Linked DNA regions of Homo sapiens: regions 1 and 3 are each linked to region 2. The links are contacts of gene promoters, found by promoter capture Hi-C in blood cells and fetal thymus (Javierre and others, 2016). All regions are on one chromosome and are shown on one strand. The core of a region is centred on a gene start or on the middle of the fragment in contact, and the rest is flanking DNA. Distances in the headings are between cores, read along the strand shown. Region 1 holds the start of OS9 (OS9 endoplasmic reticulum lectin). Region 2 holds the start of AVIL (advillin). Region 3 overlaps AGAP2 (ArfGAP with GTPase domain, ankyrin repeat and PH domain 2).

What was found. The method cuts DNA at HindIII sites, captures the fragments that hold promoters and counts their contacts. A CHiCAGO score of 5 or more calls a contact.
Region 1: the fragment with the promoter of OS9 here is called in contact with the fragment with the promoter of AVIL in region 2 in 1 of 17 cell types (neutrophils); the score reaches 5.1 in neutrophils.
Region 3: a fragment that was not itself captured here is called in contact with the fragment with the promoter of AVIL in region 2 in 2 of 17 cell types (M0 macrophages and M2 macrophages); the score reaches 5.7 in M0 macrophages.

What each region holds. Positions count from the first base shown.
Region 1 is chr12:57,692,313-57,695,488 of GRCh38, forward strand. It overlaps OS9 (OS9 endoplasmic reticulum lectin), which reads left to right and starts at 1,820. Exons shown (of 15, transcript NM_006812.4): 1 at 1,820-2,011; 2 at 2,438-2,614. The coding sequence starts at 1,850. RefSeq lists enhancers at 1,449-2,023, 2,011-2,060. The HindIII fragment of the contact is 11,057 bases long and covers 1-3,176 here.
Region 2 is chr12:57,817,406-57,820,675 of GRCh38, forward strand. AVIL (advillin) reads right to left here and starts at 1,329. Exons shown (of 20, transcript NM_006576.4): 1 at 1,224-1,329. It overlaps CTDSP2 (CTD small phosphatase 2), which reads right to left. Exons shown (of 8, transcript NM_005730.4): 8 at 2,522-3,270. The HindIII fragment of the contact is 1,940 bases long and covers 1-1,451 here.
Region 3 is chr12:57,732,834-57,735,734 of GRCh38, forward strand. AGAP2 (ArfGAP with GTPase domain, ankyrin repeat and PH domain 2) reads right to left here. Exons shown (of 19, transcript NM_001122772.3): 2 at 2,536-2,594; 3 at 1,759-1,846; 4 at 1,486-1,571; 5 at 1,193-1,340; 6 at 12-146. Among named protein-coding and RNA genes, the nearest start is that of AGAP2, 4.5 kb to the right of the region's middle. RefSeq lists an enhancer at 797-1,996. The HindIII fragment of the contact is 5,376 bases long and covers 1-2,901 here.

The DNA of each region.
Region 1 (3,176 bases), core at 570-3,069, 120 kb before region 2:
CTGTTCTCTTTCTGGAACTCTAATTTAGAACTCTTATTTAGTCCAGACCTTCTGGACTGATCCTTTATTTTTATGTTTTCTCCTAAAGCAGAACAAATTTGATCTTCTTCAACTTTATCCCCCAGCCTTTTTATAGAATTTTTATTTCTGTAACATGGTTTTAGTTTCCAAGAGCTCTTTTTGCTTATCCGAATAGTAGTTACTCTCAAGTAGTTTCCTGTTGTTATTTTATGAATGCTCTATAATATCTCTTTGAGAAGTCTGATGATGGATTATTTTTAAATGCTTTGTTGTTTCAGACGGAGTCTAGCTCTGTGGCCCAGGCTGGAATGCAGTGCCGCAATCTCAGCTCACTGCAACTTCCGCCTCCCAGGTTCAATCAATTCTTCTGCCTCAGCCTCCTGAGTAGCTGGAACTATAGGCGCGTGCCACCATGCCCAGCTAATTTTCGTATTTTTAGTAGATACGGGGTTTCACCACGTTAGCCAGGCTGGTCTTGAGCTCCTGACCTCAAGTGATCCGCCCGTCTCGGACTCCCACAGTTTTGGGATTACAGGCGTAAGCCACCGTGCCCGGCCTATTTTTAAATTTTTTATTTTTAGTGTTTTTTCCCCTCCCTTGCAATTTATGTTTCCTCTCATTTGCTTTTCCCTTCTTGTTTGTTTCTTACTTGTATATTAAAGTCCTTCCTTAAATGTCTAATGATCTCTGGCTATTTATTTTGAAGAGTAAGAACACTAAAAAGCTGATTGGAAAGTGGAATGAGGGCTGGGGCACGTAGGCCAAAGTGTTACATGTGGAATTCATTCTAGTTATCTATATCATTAAGAGAACTCTGATAAGGGTATCTTTGGGATTTTTCGTTTTGGCTGGTGAGATTCCCCAGAGAGGGTTTTCCAAAGGTATAATCAGCCTCTTGTTTACCTTTGTTTCGTAATAAATATTCTCAAGTTTGCTAAACCAGTTAACATTCTTCTGTTTGATTTCCAGCTTCCAAAATGTTGCTGTTGTTGTCTCCTTTCCCTTTCTTACGGCCTGGAGAGTAATACATAATTTCACCTTAACTGGAAGCCCATGTATGCATGTATGTATGTATGTATGTATGTATGTATGTATGTATGTATGTACGTACTTATTTGAGACGGGGTTTCGCTGTGTTGCGCAGGCTGCACTTGAACTCCTGGGCTCAGGAGATCCTCCTGCCTCAGCCTCCGGAGTAGCTGATACCACAGGTGCGTGCCACCACGTCTGGCTGCCCGCATTATTTCTCTAGGATTTTTACTGGAGGTCATTTTACTGGAGGTCAACTGCAGGATCGTATAGGAAGGTTTTGACACAAATTTTCTGATTGCCTCAAAGCAATATGTATATATGAAAAGAGGTAAGCGTCCGTATAATAATTGTTTGTTTTGCAACAAGCATTTAATAACTTTCACCGGCACTGCGCACGCTACCTATCTGCCTCAATACTCCGCCCGGCGGTGGGCAGGATATAATGCAAGAGACGTCTGAAAAAGCAATGAGATGCGCATGACAGCTGGGCGAAGACAGAGGGCAAACTTAAAAGGACCAAGCGCATAGACCACGCCTCTGAAATTGGGGAACGAGGAGGGGTTTGATCTTGTCGATGATTGGCTGGTCTCTGACCAATCACGGACAGCGATTGATATTTCTAATCGTCGTGATCCACCTCCCCAGGACCTTGGAGCCACGTTTACAAATAGGAATAGGGTACGTGGGAGGGATAGAACGTACAGCCAATAAAATCATGTGGCGCCGATGGGCGTGTTGAGGCCGCTGCCTGGCTTAGGGCGGAAACAGATTCTCTGCATAAGAAGGGGAACGAAAGATGGCGGCGGAAACGCTGCTGTCCAGTTTGTTAGGACTGCTGCTTCTGGGACTCCTGTTACCCGCAAGTCTGACCGGCGGTGTCGGGAGCCTGAACCTGGAGGAGCTGAGTGAGATGCGTTATGGGATCGAGATCCTGCCGTTGCCTGTCATGGGAGGGCAGGTGAGAGGCGTATAAGGGGCGAGGGTCTGGGCAGAAGAGGAAGCGGGTAAGAGATAGAGGAAGAAGGGCAGCTCCGGAGTCTGGGGCTGGAGCCTACGGGGAATCGGGAAGAGTAGGTATTGCTTTTACGGTGACCCCTGGGGGTCGCAGACTGAGACCAATTCTCTGGGGGCCAGGAATTGGGAGAGGTGGGGCTTCCCGCTGTCAACCTTCAGGTCTCAGTTTATGATCGAAACACCCGGACTCCGCCCCCGTGGAGAAATGGGAGCGCCCTCTCCTCTCACCCACTAAATACAGCTGGAGGGCTTATGGCTTATTCTGTCTTCGACTGATCTCTTCCCCAGGGTTTGAAGAGGGATTTCGTTGTTCTCCCTGATCCCAGCCTTTCTTTGCTTCCTTGCCCCCCGACCCTCCCTTCTTTCCCAGAGCCAATCTTCGGACGTGGTGATTGTCTCCTCTAAGTACAAACAGCGCTATGAGTGTCGCCTGCCAGCTGGAGCTATTCACTTCCAGCGTGAAAGGGAGGAGGAAACACCTGCTTACCAAGGGCCTGGGATCCCTGAGTTGTTGAGCCCAATGAGAGATGCTCCCTGCTTGCTGAAGGTGAAAGGGACTGGGTTAGATAGAATGAGGGCTTGGAAACTAGCAGTTCATCCAAGAACTGGAGTCCACTGAATGAGGCAGGATCTAGGGGACCTGTAGTGGTTAAGAAGACCACTGGAGGAGTAGACAGATTACACGGACAGGAAAGAAGCAAAGAATCCTGCAACCACTGATGACACTTTGCTGAACGTAGGAGCAGGTTAGGATAGAAGATCTCAGAAAAGGGCTAAAGCAAGATTGAGGGTCTGCGTGGGGTAGGAGGAGTACTTCCTTAAGCCTACTTGCTAAAGTCACCCCCTGCCCTATCACTCTGCTCCAGTATCCTGTTTTATTTTCATCGTAGCACTTTTCATGATCTGAAATCATATTTACTGAATCAGTTTGTTTATTTTCGGTCTGATTCCCCGCATTAGAGTGTAAACTCCATGAGGTCAAAGAATTAATCTTGTTCACAGTTGTATTCCCAGTGGCCAGAACAGTGCCAGGAATGTTCAAGAAGTTCAATTAATATTTAATTTTGGGTTCTTCTATGTTTCCCTAATATAATTGCTTCAGGGATACC
Region 2 (3,270 bases), core at 79-2,578:
GACTCGCTTTGTCTACTGCTGTAGCAGGACTAAAGCAAGGCAATGGTGCGGAGCAGCCAGTGTTTGAGAATTTAATTTGATAACTTGTGCTGCCCCACCCTGTGCTGCTCAGAATTGCCAGGAAATATGGTGTTTGGGTTTTCTTCAGACCCTACGTAGCAGTCATTAAAGGCAAAAGCCATGAGCCAACTAGGGGAAGGGGACAAGGGCCACTGAATTCATTCCTTGGAGACAGAGAACTGTCACCCTGGTAAAAGCCAAACCAGCCGGCAGCAATTAGGACTGTGAGCCTCAGAGGCTGAAACCTGTCCCGTTTCCCAGCAGGAATTTAGGAATCAAGGAGCTCCCTGGGCCAGGCACCCCGAATGCGAGAGGATAAGCTCCAGGAAGGGACTTCCTGTCACACTGGAACACACAGAAAACACAGTTCTGACATCAAATCTCCCAAAGCTGGGTCTCTCCTTCTCCCTAAATCCTAATTCAGTATCCTTTGAGAGGACTGCAGAAACCCCTTGGGTGTGGGGCACAGTTTTGAAATGTCAGGTTAAAAGCCAGTGGCCTGTAATTCTCAGAGATGCCCTTTTGGACGGACCCTGAGCAGAGGAAGCTGTTTTTTGTTGTTGTTGTTTTTGAGACAGGGTCTTGCTCTGTCACCCAGGCTGGAGTGCAGTGGTACAATCACGGCTCACTGCAACCGCCACCTCCTGGGCTCAAGTGATCCTTCTGCCTCAGCCTCCTGAGAAGCTGAGACCACAGGTGTGCACCACCATGCTTGGCTTTTTTTTTTTTTTTTTTTTTTTTTTTTTTTGTAGAGACAGGGTCTCACTATGTTGCCCAGGATGGTCACAAGTTACAAACTCCTGGGCTCAAACAATCCTCATGCCCTGGCTTCCCAAAGTGTTGGGATTACAGGTGTAAGCCACCTCTCTGGGCCAGGAAGCTGGTTTTAACTCCTCCTGCCTTGCTCCATACCATCTTTCTCTAGGGATAGGTGAAAGGGGTCTGTCTTTCCCAGCTTTTGAAAATGTGCCCTATATGTTCAGCTGCCTCTAAGGGGTTCTTCTGAACAAGAAGTTTGCAAAACTGGCCAGCCAGACTCCTGGTTCATTTTAAAAGCCTCATCTCAGAAGACAAAGCCAAGGGACTCTCAAGCTCCTCTTCCTTTCATTTCTTCCTCATTCAGGAGGATTAACTGGCATGCCCCCGTAAATCAGAGACCTTACCTTGCCTTCTCGCTCACCAGCCTTCCCAGTTTCCCGGCGCGTAAGCAGCAGCAGTATTGAAGAACCACTCCAAAGCAGGAGGCTCCAGGTCCTGCTGCCTTAGCTTAGTAATGGCCGCAGAGATACTGGGTTATATTTGCTTGTGTTTGCATCTTAACCGCATTTTCCTAGTCCTGGCCAATCAGAGCCAACCTAGCACTGAGCTTGGCTTATTCAAACCAGAGGGAAAGCTTTATCTGTGCCTATTCAAAACAGCAAAACAGAAGAGCAGACTTTTAAAGGCTTCTTTGAACTCCAGCTCCACGCCCTGATCTAATTGATTTTTTAAAAAGTGCACACAGCCCATCAATAATGCAGGAAAGAGGTTGGAAGGATATGAAATTTGCCATATTGTAGATATGGATGCATTATGGTGATGACAGGAGGAAGAGGCTGGAGCTGCCCCATGAGTGCCTGTGATGTCTAGGTTGGCAAGAGCCTCCCTAAGAAGCTTCTGGCATTTCTCAAAGGGAGGGGAAGTCTGGGAGAGGAGCCAGAATTTTATTAGGCCACAGTTTTGCTCGTTGGGGTCTCTACTAGTCATACAGTAAACCAATCAATATTTGAGTGCCTGCTGTTTGCCAGGAACCATGCTGGGCTCTCAGCTTCAGGGTTTCCAGTTTGGAAGAATCAGTGAGGGGCAGAGAAGAATCAAGACTCCATTCCCAGGGCTGGGTGTGGTGGTGGCTCACGCCTGTAATCCCAGCACTTTGGGAGGCTGAGGTGGGTGGATCACAATGTGAGGAGTTTGAAAACAGCCTGGCCAAGATGGTGAAACCCCATCTCTACTAAAAATACAAAAATGAGCCGGGCGTGCTGGCAGGCGCCTGTAATCCCAGCTACTCAGGAGACTGAGGCAGGAGAATCGCTTGAACCTGGGAGGTGGAGGTTGCAGTGAGCTGAGATCATGCCACTGCCTCTAGCCTGGGCAACAGAGCAAGACTCCATTTCAAAAAAAAAAAAAAAAATAATAATCCATTCCCTTAGGGCTTCTGGTTCATGCCCAGAAGTCAATAGGACATCAAGCATATACACGTGCTAAGCACCTGACTGCAATGGGGTTGATCACAGCAGAACTTGTGTAACCTTGAGCGGAAGCCCTGTGTGGCATCTGCAGCTGGCCTCCCGGTGGGTGCAACACCCCACTCAGCCCGGGGGTGCAGCTGCTTCATGATGGAAGGGGTTGCGAGAAGAAAGGCGGTGCTTGCCATGGGCCCAGTGAACACTTAAGGGCCAATGAAGGTTGGTGGCAGCTCACATTCCTGGAAAGGTTTTTTAAACCCACTTTTATTAATTAATTGTAAGTAATACAAATATTCCAAAAATATAAACAGACACTTAATGGCGTCCTGCATTTCAAGTTTTTGAATACAACAAATTTATCAAACCATGAATCTGTAAGCAAGGTAGTCAGAATCCCATAGCCCAGTCACAGTGGGAAGCAGATCCCCTACCCTCCAAATGGCATCTTGAAGGGGGAAAGCGGCACGAAATGGAACATGATAAGCAAAAAAGCTCACGAGGCCCAAAGAGGAGGGTCCGCTCCATGGGCAGGCCCTACAACGTTAAAAGAATGGGGCAGCTGGCCCGACCTCTGGCCTCCTCTTCCCTGGCTGAATGTAAATATTTACCAGCATTTAGAAAAAAGGAGAAAAAAGACAGAACTAAACCCGTTTAGGAAAAAGGGACCGAGGGACAGCAGTGGTTAAGTAATCCACTGAGGACCTGAAGGGGAAAATGGACTTACCTTTCTCATATACTTGGCCTGGCTAGGACACTGGGTGCCAGACAGCCTTCTGAGGGGATTTTCTTTCTAAATGAGGCCTCAGGAACAGGTAGGGGCAGCAGAATAGAATAGCATCCATTTCCCAGAGAAAGACTGCCTTTACATTTCCCATGCTTTTAGCACAAAGCAGCGTCTGGGCCACTGTTACCAGAGGTGAGTTTATACATTTACAAAATGCTTAAAATCTTTGGGAAGCAAGAGGAAGCTAAACAGAAGGTCCCA
Region 3 (2,901 bases), core at 214-2,713, 84 kb before region 2:
ACTACACTCACCCTCCTGGAAGACCCGATCCACATTGAGCCCATAGGTTGCACAAGTCTCATAGTAGCTGCAGCGTTTCATGTCCGCGCACAGAGCTCTGGCACGAGCATCTCCCACCACCCGAGGGGAGGAAGCACTGATCCTGTCTGAGGGGACAGGAAAGGGGCAGGATTGAACAAGGAGCCCCACCTTGTTCGATTTTTCACAATTCCCTTATCCTTGCACTGGGCCCTCAGGCTGGGTCCACTGGGGATGGGGTGTGAGAGATCATCTTTTCTGTGACCAGGTGGAATGGGAGTACATAAGCCCTTTCTGAGTACTGGGCCCAGTTCACACACCTAGCTGGGTGAGCTGTGTGTGTGTGTGTGTGTGTGTGTGTGTCCTCAAGGAATACTCCAGAGCTGCTGAGTGGTGCTTCCTGACAAGGTCTACATAGCTGAGACCCAGGCGCGAGCGACAATCACCCTGCCCTGCAAATCCATAGAACCCTGAACTGGTGGGAGGACACCAGCTTGTGAACTAGGAAAAGGTTGGGTGCCCATGGGTCATGGCTGGACTGCCCACTCTGCAGCAAGAAACCAGGATGCAAGCAACAGGTGGAGATAGGCACCAGCAGAACAGGCATCCAGACCAAGTCCCACCAGCTCGACACAGGGGAGTGCTGGAAAAGCATTTCCTGGCCCTGGCAGAGTCTGGGAGCCTCTGAGTCACTTCTCTGAGAACTAAAAGGTTTTCTGCTCTCTTCTTTTCATCATCATTTCCTTTGTGTTTTCACTTTGTTTTTGGATAAGTTCCTTTAAAAGGTGTCAGCCTTACCCAGCTGTCGCAAAAAGGAAGATGGAAAAGGTTTCCTATCCACCCTAGGACTTGAGATTTTCTGTGTCCTAGGATGGTGGCACTAGGAAATGGCAGTGTCAGAACACAAGGTAGGTGACATTTCAGGAGAGGCAAGGAGATGGCTACTATAGCTGTCCTTTCCTCCCTGGAGATCCCCTTTTCTCTGCTCAGACCTTGGGAAGTTATTGTTTGGTTTCATGACTCCCTTATTTGGAGACCAGGCTCCCTCCAGAAGGGTACTATAATCCAAGTGGCCATTTCCACACCTTACCAAGTTCTCACCCATGTTGGGCAATATCCCAGTAGCCTCCTTAGGGCCTCCCTTGAAAGCAGTGCTTTCCTAACCCCTCCTTACCTTGTGTCCCCACCAGTGCCAAGGCCAGGCCTCCTCGTCCCTCCCCGCGAAGGGAACTCAGCTGCCCATGGAGACGGCTCACAGCCTGGAAACTGTTCTCATCCTCCAGGCTGAAGACGAAGATCACAGCATCTGCCCAGCCTGAGAACTTGCGGGGAGTGAGGGAGCAAATGGAAAGTCAGACAGGTCTACTCCTCTGGACCCAATCCAGATGAAGACCTGGGAAACCAGAGCCCTCTCCTTTGGCCAGTGCTGACCCCAGCCAGCCTGTCCCCCACCACCTCCACCCTCACCTTGGCATCAGGTGCCCCAGCTTCCTCTCGGATTAGCACCAGATGTGTCTGTCCATCCACCAACATTTCTTTCTTGTACTGCTCACCTGTCCAGAAGAGTTGGAAGGGGTAACAGGTCAGAGGTGACAGGTCACCAAACCTCCCCATGCTCCCAGTGCTTTTGCTATTATGGCCTCATCCTTCCCCCCTGGTCTCCACACCTGCCTAATCATTGATCTCACTCCTGGATCCCTGACCCCAATGGTTAGCTTACTATGGCTCTTCAGAACTCACTCTCTGTCTTCTCCAGCACCTGGTATGAGCCAGTCAGGAATCGGTGGATGAGCGATGACTTCCCACTCCTGGCATCGCCCAGCACACCCTGAGGGCAAGGTTGTGGAGCAGAAATTGTGGGATATAAGAGAAGGCAGGATGCATGGGTCTGGACACTCCAGAAAACCCAGAGAGATAAGTCATCCAAGCAGGACCCTACAGGGCCTGGATGACAGTCATTCCAGAGAGAGCAGTTGGGAGGATCAGAGCAGCTGGGGGGATCAGAGCAGTTGGGAGGATCAGGGCATGAGTGTGGTAAGAAATGATCCCAAGCTCAAAGTGGAGCACGAGCTGAAGAATGTCAGCAATTCAGTACCAGCTTTTTTGTGTGTTGGGTTGTTTAGAAAACATACTAGATATGTTGTGTGTGTGTGTCTCTGTGTGTGTGTGTTTGTAGCATGTCACAGCTCTAGGCACTAGTTGGAAAACTTTACCCAATTCTAGGCAGTACAACATGAAGGCCAAAGGGCAGATACCAGAAATGAGAAGCCTGGAGGAGGACCATGAACAAACAGGAAAAAGGGGATGGCTGCATAAAGACTAGATAGGAAAAACTTGTGAGGAGGCTGTAGCAAACCCCATGTTGGTGCTATGAAGGCAGACTCTCAGGAGAACTGGAAAACGATTCCCTATTCCCAAAGAGAGAGAGAGAGAGAAGGAGAGGTGAAGGGAGAGAGCTGAGAGTGCAGTGGGTGGGAGGTCAGCCTTCCCTATAGGCAAGGGGACTGGGTTACCTACCAGGCGCAGTTCAGGAATGGAGCGGCTCAAAGTCCATTCCTGGCTATTGATCACAGCCTCTGTAACGGGAGAAGGGCAGTAAGAGGGGAGGCTCCTGGCTCAGAAGGACCCCCAACACTGAGCCACCCCTCCTCCCTCTGCAGCTTTCCAACCCCCCCCCAACCCTGCCTGCACTGGAGAGGTGTGTGCAACAGACAGGTTTGAGGGTGGTCCCCAGGCCTCCCATCCCAGCCACTCTCCCCCAGCTGTTGCTGCCGCTCAGTGGTTGCTTAGCAACGGAGCTAGCAAGACAAAAATACTTCAGTTGGCATCTCCCTTAAAGCACATCCCCAAACGCGGGTCCTGGCCCCAGACAGGGAGACCAGG